Linked DNA regions of Homo sapiens: region 2 is linked to region 1. Evidence: promoter capture Hi-C in 16 types of primary human blood cells and fetal thymus (Javierre and others, 2016). All regions are on one chromosome and are shown on one strand. The core of a region is centred on a gene start or on the middle of the fragment in contact, and the rest is flanking DNA. Distances in the headings are between cores, read along the strand shown. Region 1 holds the start of RASSF6 (Ras association domain family member 6). Region 2 has its middle 5.8 kb from the start of CXCL1.

Region 1 (3,051 bases), core at 388-2,887:
TTTGACTGCTTTATTTAATAAAATAACAAGATAAAAATGAAGTCAATGGAAATTACTAGTCATAGACACTAAGTTGGTCCCCTCAAGAAAATTAGCAACATTAATAACTAACAACATTGACAAAAGTGCCCTTTAAGTGAAACTTCATAAAATAAAGCCACTTTCCTGTAATTTAAGCTTAAGAGGTAGAGACTGACAAAATACAAGTATTATTCCTTCATGTCTCTTGTCCATCAACACAAATTAAAAACAGCACTTCAATACAAACAATTCAATATGTGCTGAAATATAAAGACATGGATTATATGGTCTAAATTGATGAAAGTTATTCAAAAGCAGTCTCCTTTATAAAACCCAAATGGCATGAATTCCACAATATGAGATTGTGTGTAACTCTCTTACTCTAAAATTCTATTTTCTTTTTAGGAATAACAGATTAATGTAAATGTGAATTTTTCAAAAGAAAACTGATTGAGTAGCAAATATGTCTGAATTTGCCACCACATACTCTATCTGAAAAATGGAAAGAAGCCAGGTCATTTCGTTGCTACCCAGAGAGATGATCCTAGCACACCTGTCACCTGCTTGCCTGTCCTGGATCCAGTCTCCGGGAACCAGTTCAATTCCAGCATCCTAATACACACTGTCTGGTCTCCCTAGTTCAGCTTGCCCTCCCTGATAACGGCCCCTTTGGCAGAGCAGCTTATTCTTAATGCTAACAGTAGGTATCACTTACAGAACACTTGCTGACTGTTCAGTTCCCATCAAAGAAAGCCTTATGTGGCAGATCCTTTGATGATGCTTGTTTTACAGACAAACGTTTGGGGCTTAGGTTAAGAAACTTGAGAGGGGGCAAACTAATAAGTGGCAAAGCCGAGCTTTGAACCTACCACTCTTCTGCTTCAGAATTCATATCCTTAACTCATGCACTCCCATTTAATTATTTATGTTTATTATTTCATTGTTTGGTGAGCGCTTATATTGAAAATTCATTTTTTTTTTGGTGGGGGGCATGCTTTCTGTCACTTTGCAGAAACAAATAAAAGTTGAGCTGAACCCTCAATTAAGTTCTTTCCAGTGCGATGATTCAACACAATATTCTAACCATAAGGATACTCAGAGGAAGGAGTATGCCATCCAGAAGTCTAGTATCTTTGTAAGGCACGATTTTTGCCAGGCACAATTACAGGTGAAGGGCTCATTGAACTAAAGGGAGGAGGGGTCCTATGGTCACATTTACCTCCAAGCCCTTCTCTGCACCCTTTCCCTCCCTTCTTTCCCCTCTCTCCCTCCCACCCTACAAGCTTACCTTGGTTAGGAAAGCATATTCTGAGAAAATCAAAAGGAAAAGGCATGTGTGCGATTCAGGCTGCTATGACACACACACACTTAACTTTGTTGCCTATGGATTCTGCTTTCTAATAACTTGCCCTCAACATGACCCCAGGGAGTGGATTAGAAAGTTTTTTTCCCCATCCCCATTTTTTACCTGTTATTCACACTGTGAGCAGGAGGACCCTTTTCACCATCGTTGTTCGGCTGAACTTGCTTCGCGGTTTGTTCTCGGCTGGGTCAGGAACTCTGGTAGAGGGAAACCAGTGCCCTGTCTCTGCCGGGCTGGGACTCCGCGAGTCACTCACCTGTAGGGGAGGTCCGAGGCCCGCGCGGGCGCAGGGGCGGCGCCTGTCTCCTCCCAGAGCATGGCTCAGCTGGGCGCTTGCAGTGCCCCCGACGCGATCAGCGATCCTGGAGCCCCAGGAGCTGTTAATTATTTCTCCTTTTCGCCACAGCAGGGAAGTGTCAAGAAACCTGAGCCACTCCCTGTGCCTCAGTGCATGTTGGGAGTGTTTACTTTCTTAGGAACAGCTGATAGGTACACTCCTTTGCTCTCTGCCACACTTCTTGAGAAATGAATGGACATTCTAGTTAACGCTTTAACCACGGGATTTGACTGATGTTAATCTCTATTCTCTAGTCCACCCAGACTGTAGGTAATTGGCCTGTGAGAAATGACACCAACCAAGACTGAACGCCATTATTCACGTCTTTCTTTTTAAGATTTTTCTTTTCCAATTTGAGATTTGTTAACTTTCTTTTCCTTGTTATTTTGCTAACACATTTCCCTGCTAGCACTTTTTTTCACCCAGAGCAGCGTTTCGCGCTTCAGGGTGCACCAGGACCACCTATGTATTCTGCTAAACCCAGGTACCATCAACTGTGAGACTCTGATTTAGTAGGCCATGCATACACTTCGGGTATTTATATTTTTTATAAGCTCCACAGAAGAAACTGGTAGACATCAAAGTTTGAAAATGAACATAATGAAACAAAACAGAGGAGATAAATAATAATTTAGTCATTATCTACTGAATTGGATTTGGGGGCTTTGTTTTATCCAATATCTCCAATTTCAAAAGGACACCAAAAAGGCTTAGAAACTGTTAAATGACAGATGCTGTGGAAATATGAAGTACATTTACACACACACACACACACACACACACACAGATTTTTAAGGATCATTGTTATTTTACTGGTTTCCTATGTAAAGCAACTATTCATAATTTTTAAACATAATAGGTTATTTTACAAGTGTAAACCTGAGAGCCCTCAAAAGAAATTCAATCTGATTCCTGCAAAAAGTTCAGCAGGCAGAGTTAATTTCTAGTATCTTTCGTGTTCAAACGCCAGACAAACAGAATGACTCTAGATGTTCAGGTTGCATGTTTGTCATAGCACTTTAAGTAAGATCCTATATGTTCAAAAGGTGAGGCAGGCCAGGTGCAGTGACTCACGCCTGTAATCTCAGCACTTTGGGAGACCAAGGCTGGTGGATCACTTGAGCCCAGGAGTTCAAGACCAGCCTGGACAACATGGCAAAACCCTGTCTCTGCAAAAAAAAAAAAAAAAATTAGCCCGGCATTGTGGGGCATGCCTATAGTCCCAGCTACTCGGGAGGCTGAGGTGGGAGGATCACTTGAGCCTGGGAAGTCGAGGCTGCAGAGAGCCAAGATTGCACCACTGCACTCCAGCCTGATTCAAAAAAAAAAA
Region 2 (3,051 bases), core at 382-2,881, 240 kb after region 1:
GTTCTATCAGCCCTAAGGCAAATGACCTATAAACCAAACACAGATATTCCAGCTCCATCTGTGACAAGGACCTCCCTGGCCTTATTCCTAACATTGTTCCCCTTCTGTTCCACACCTGGGAGAGCTCAAGCCCTCTGGCTTTGGATGCAGGTCCCATCTGTCTCTTTAAATGTATTGGCAGACCTGGGCATCAGAGCTTTCTAAGGACTTTGGTTCAGACTCATTACTCTGGCTTTCCCAGGTAGGGGATCCCCTTTTCTAGCTCTTACTATAGAATTCAAACTGTGGCTCTGACCCAACTGTCATATCTGGTTTCATTAAATGTCCACTGGCATCTTTTATTCTGGTCCTGAAAAGTCAAAATAGGCAAAAGAAACTAAGGAAATTCCACACTCCATCAAGGGAAGCTTCCACATATCCTGACTTAAGGATATTTTAGTTTTAAAACAGTGACCTGAAACCATTGACTCATGCATTATGTCAGCAAACATTTGTTGAGTGCTTAGCATGAACCAGACTCATTTTAGAGACTTTTTCTTCTAGCTCCTTCTAACTCCCTGTTTGAAAACTTATCTTCATGTTTACATCTTCTTTTTCCAGAGTCCTGGCACAAAGCTTCCCGTGAACTTTCAGGACCAGATATTCATAGTTTTTGATGGGTCCCTAGGAAAACCACTGGTGTGAGAGAATTTTAGAGTCTGGTGGATGCAAACAGGAATGAGATATATGATGGCTTTCCTTACAGAATACACAATCCAGTATGGGAGTATGTAAATCAATGCTCCCCACAATGTGATTTGTATCCAAAGGCCAAGATAACCCTTTGGAAGGAAAGATGGGATTTTAATGGAAGTGACATTTGAAATGGTCCTTGATTGATAAATAGGAGCCTTCAGTGACTGGGCCCTGCCTATCCTTCTGCTGGATCAATCTAAATGTTAAATTCTGTGTTAAAAAAATAAACGGCTGATTTTTGTTTTCAGGTCACACTACACTGTTGCCAGTTTCCATTCCTTTGCTTGTTTGGTCTGCCTCTTCTGAAGTGGGTCCCTTCCCAACTCACCTTAGGTAGCACCCTCTACCAGAAAGTTTTCTCTGGAAGCTCCCACCCTCCCAAGAAAAAGGGTCAGGTGTTCACCTCCTGTGAGTGCCCACAAAACTCTGCACACAGCTGAGTGTCTTGGACCTCCACACAATGCCATATCTTTCTGTGCCACTCTGTAGATGTGAGTTCAGTTGAAGCAAAGTCTTCTTTTCCCTCTTTGTAATCCGATTTAGAGCCAAATTTAGTTCCTGGATTATGAGTGGTAGATAAATTTTGAATGGATGAATGGACAGATGCATTAACAATAAAGTAACTAGAGCAACTATGTAGGAAAGTTGTCTGTAGCAGAAGTGTGGAAGATGGGTGGTATTAGGCAAGACTATTTCACTGGCAAGAGACAGACATCTAATTTATACCATCTCAAAAAAAAGAAAAGAAAGAAAATCTGCTGGCCTACATGACTGAGAAGTTCATAAATAAATCAGAGCCAGCTGGAGGACCTAGGTGTCCATACATATACTTAGATGGTCCCCTTCATGTCTTACCTTTGCTTTTCTCTGGGCCAAATTCGCTCTCAGGTAGGTTCTCTCCAAGCATTACAAAATTCCAGGCCCTCATTTTACCAGTTTTGCAATCCCAGTGAGAATTCAGAACCTCCTTTTCATTCGTTCCAGCAAAAATTCTAGGAACTATTTCTAATATAGCCAGGCTTTGGTCACTTGTCCACATCTGAATTAATCAGCAGGGTTAGGGCTGGGGGTGGCATACAGGAAGGAACTGAGAGATGGGTTATCTTACCTGAAATCTACAGACTAAGAGCTGGTAATCGAGGGGGTGTTCCGAGAAGGGGGTGCCAGACAAGCAGTCTTTGGAAGACTGAATAGAGAGGCTGAACCTAACTCTAGCACCCACTATGCCCTTGTACTTTGGGGGGTGAACTGATCCAGAAATCTAACATCATATTCACACATCTTTATTATTCTCTGCTCAGAGCCAGAGTCATTACATTGGAAGAGATGAGTATAGAGAAATAGGTACAGCAGGTGTGAGGGACAAGAGTTCCTAAGGCAAGTAGGGGCAGAGGAGAGCTGCCCCGCCGGTTCCTGCCTGCCTTGAGCATGGTCACTTCTCAGGATGGAGCAGTGCCTCTATTTAGGCTCCCCTAAAATACAGAGCTTGAGTCATGGGCTTGCCATGCATGTAATTGATTTGGGGAAATGTTCCCAACACAGAGGACTCAAGAACAGGAAAGAGTAAAATAGGAAAAGAGGACATGGGCAACTGGGGTTCAATCCTACTGGATATCCTCTGAGAAATGATGTAGAATGTCTGCCCAAAGCATGAAAAATGGGAAAACATGTATCTTTTGCCTCTGGTTTCTCCTGCGAAAGGGATGTTACATGGCAGCAACAGAGAAACTTTGGGCTAGTGAGTGAAAAATACCTGATGCAGCTGAGGCAGGGAGCTGCCAGGTGACATCTGCAGGCAGCAGAGTGCTACAGCAATGACAGATAAACAGGTCTAGAAAACATGAGCTCCCAGATTTGACTGCTAATTATGAAAGTTTCAATAGTGATTCCAGGCAAAATGGAATTTAGCTACCAAAGCTTCCATTTTTAAAGGTTCCTCCATTTCTTTAAGAATTGTTGCTTGCATACGTTTAAAGACTGCGTAAAATCCCGTCATTCAACTCTTGAAAAAAATTAGCTTGGAGGAACATTTGTTCCAACAAGACAATGAATTTGTTTATTTTTCCAGGCTACAGCATTCCTGTGCTTATAAATTTTGAATTTTGGTTTATGCGGATTTCATTGATACAAGTGGCATATTAAGGAGGAAATAACAACAAAAAATTCTTTCCATTCCAATTCATTTACACAAAATGTGATTTTGATGAAAATTTTCCTGAGTCAAGTTCTGTCTAATCTGCGGATGCCCACTGCTTCTTGACATGCTTAATTCGCTTCATTCTCTTGGCAGCTCCTGTGGAGCTCTGCTCCCCCTGA

Evidence for each region. The method cuts DNA at HindIII sites, captures the fragments that hold promoters and counts their contacts. A CHiCAGO score of 5 or more calls a contact.
Region 2: a contact is called between a fragment that was not itself captured here and the fragment with the promoter of RASSF6 in region 1, in 1 of 17 cell types (fetal thymus). The highest score is 5.9, in fetal thymus.

Annotation. Positions count from the first base shown.
Region 1 is chr4:73,618,799-73,621,849 of GRCh38, forward strand. RASSF6 (Ras association domain family member 6) reads right to left here and starts at 1,638. Exons shown (of 11, transcript NM_177532.5): 1 at 1,490-1,638. RefSeq lists enhancers at 1,112-1,661, 1,662-2,210. The HindIII fragment of the contact is 3,198 bases long and covers 1,303-3,051 here.
Region 2 is chr4:73,862,050-73,865,100 of GRCh38, forward strand. No RefSeq gene overlaps it. Among named protein-coding and RNA genes, the nearest start is that of CXCL1, 5.8 kb to the right of the region's middle. The HindIII fragment of the contact is 2,037 bases long and covers 614-2,650 here.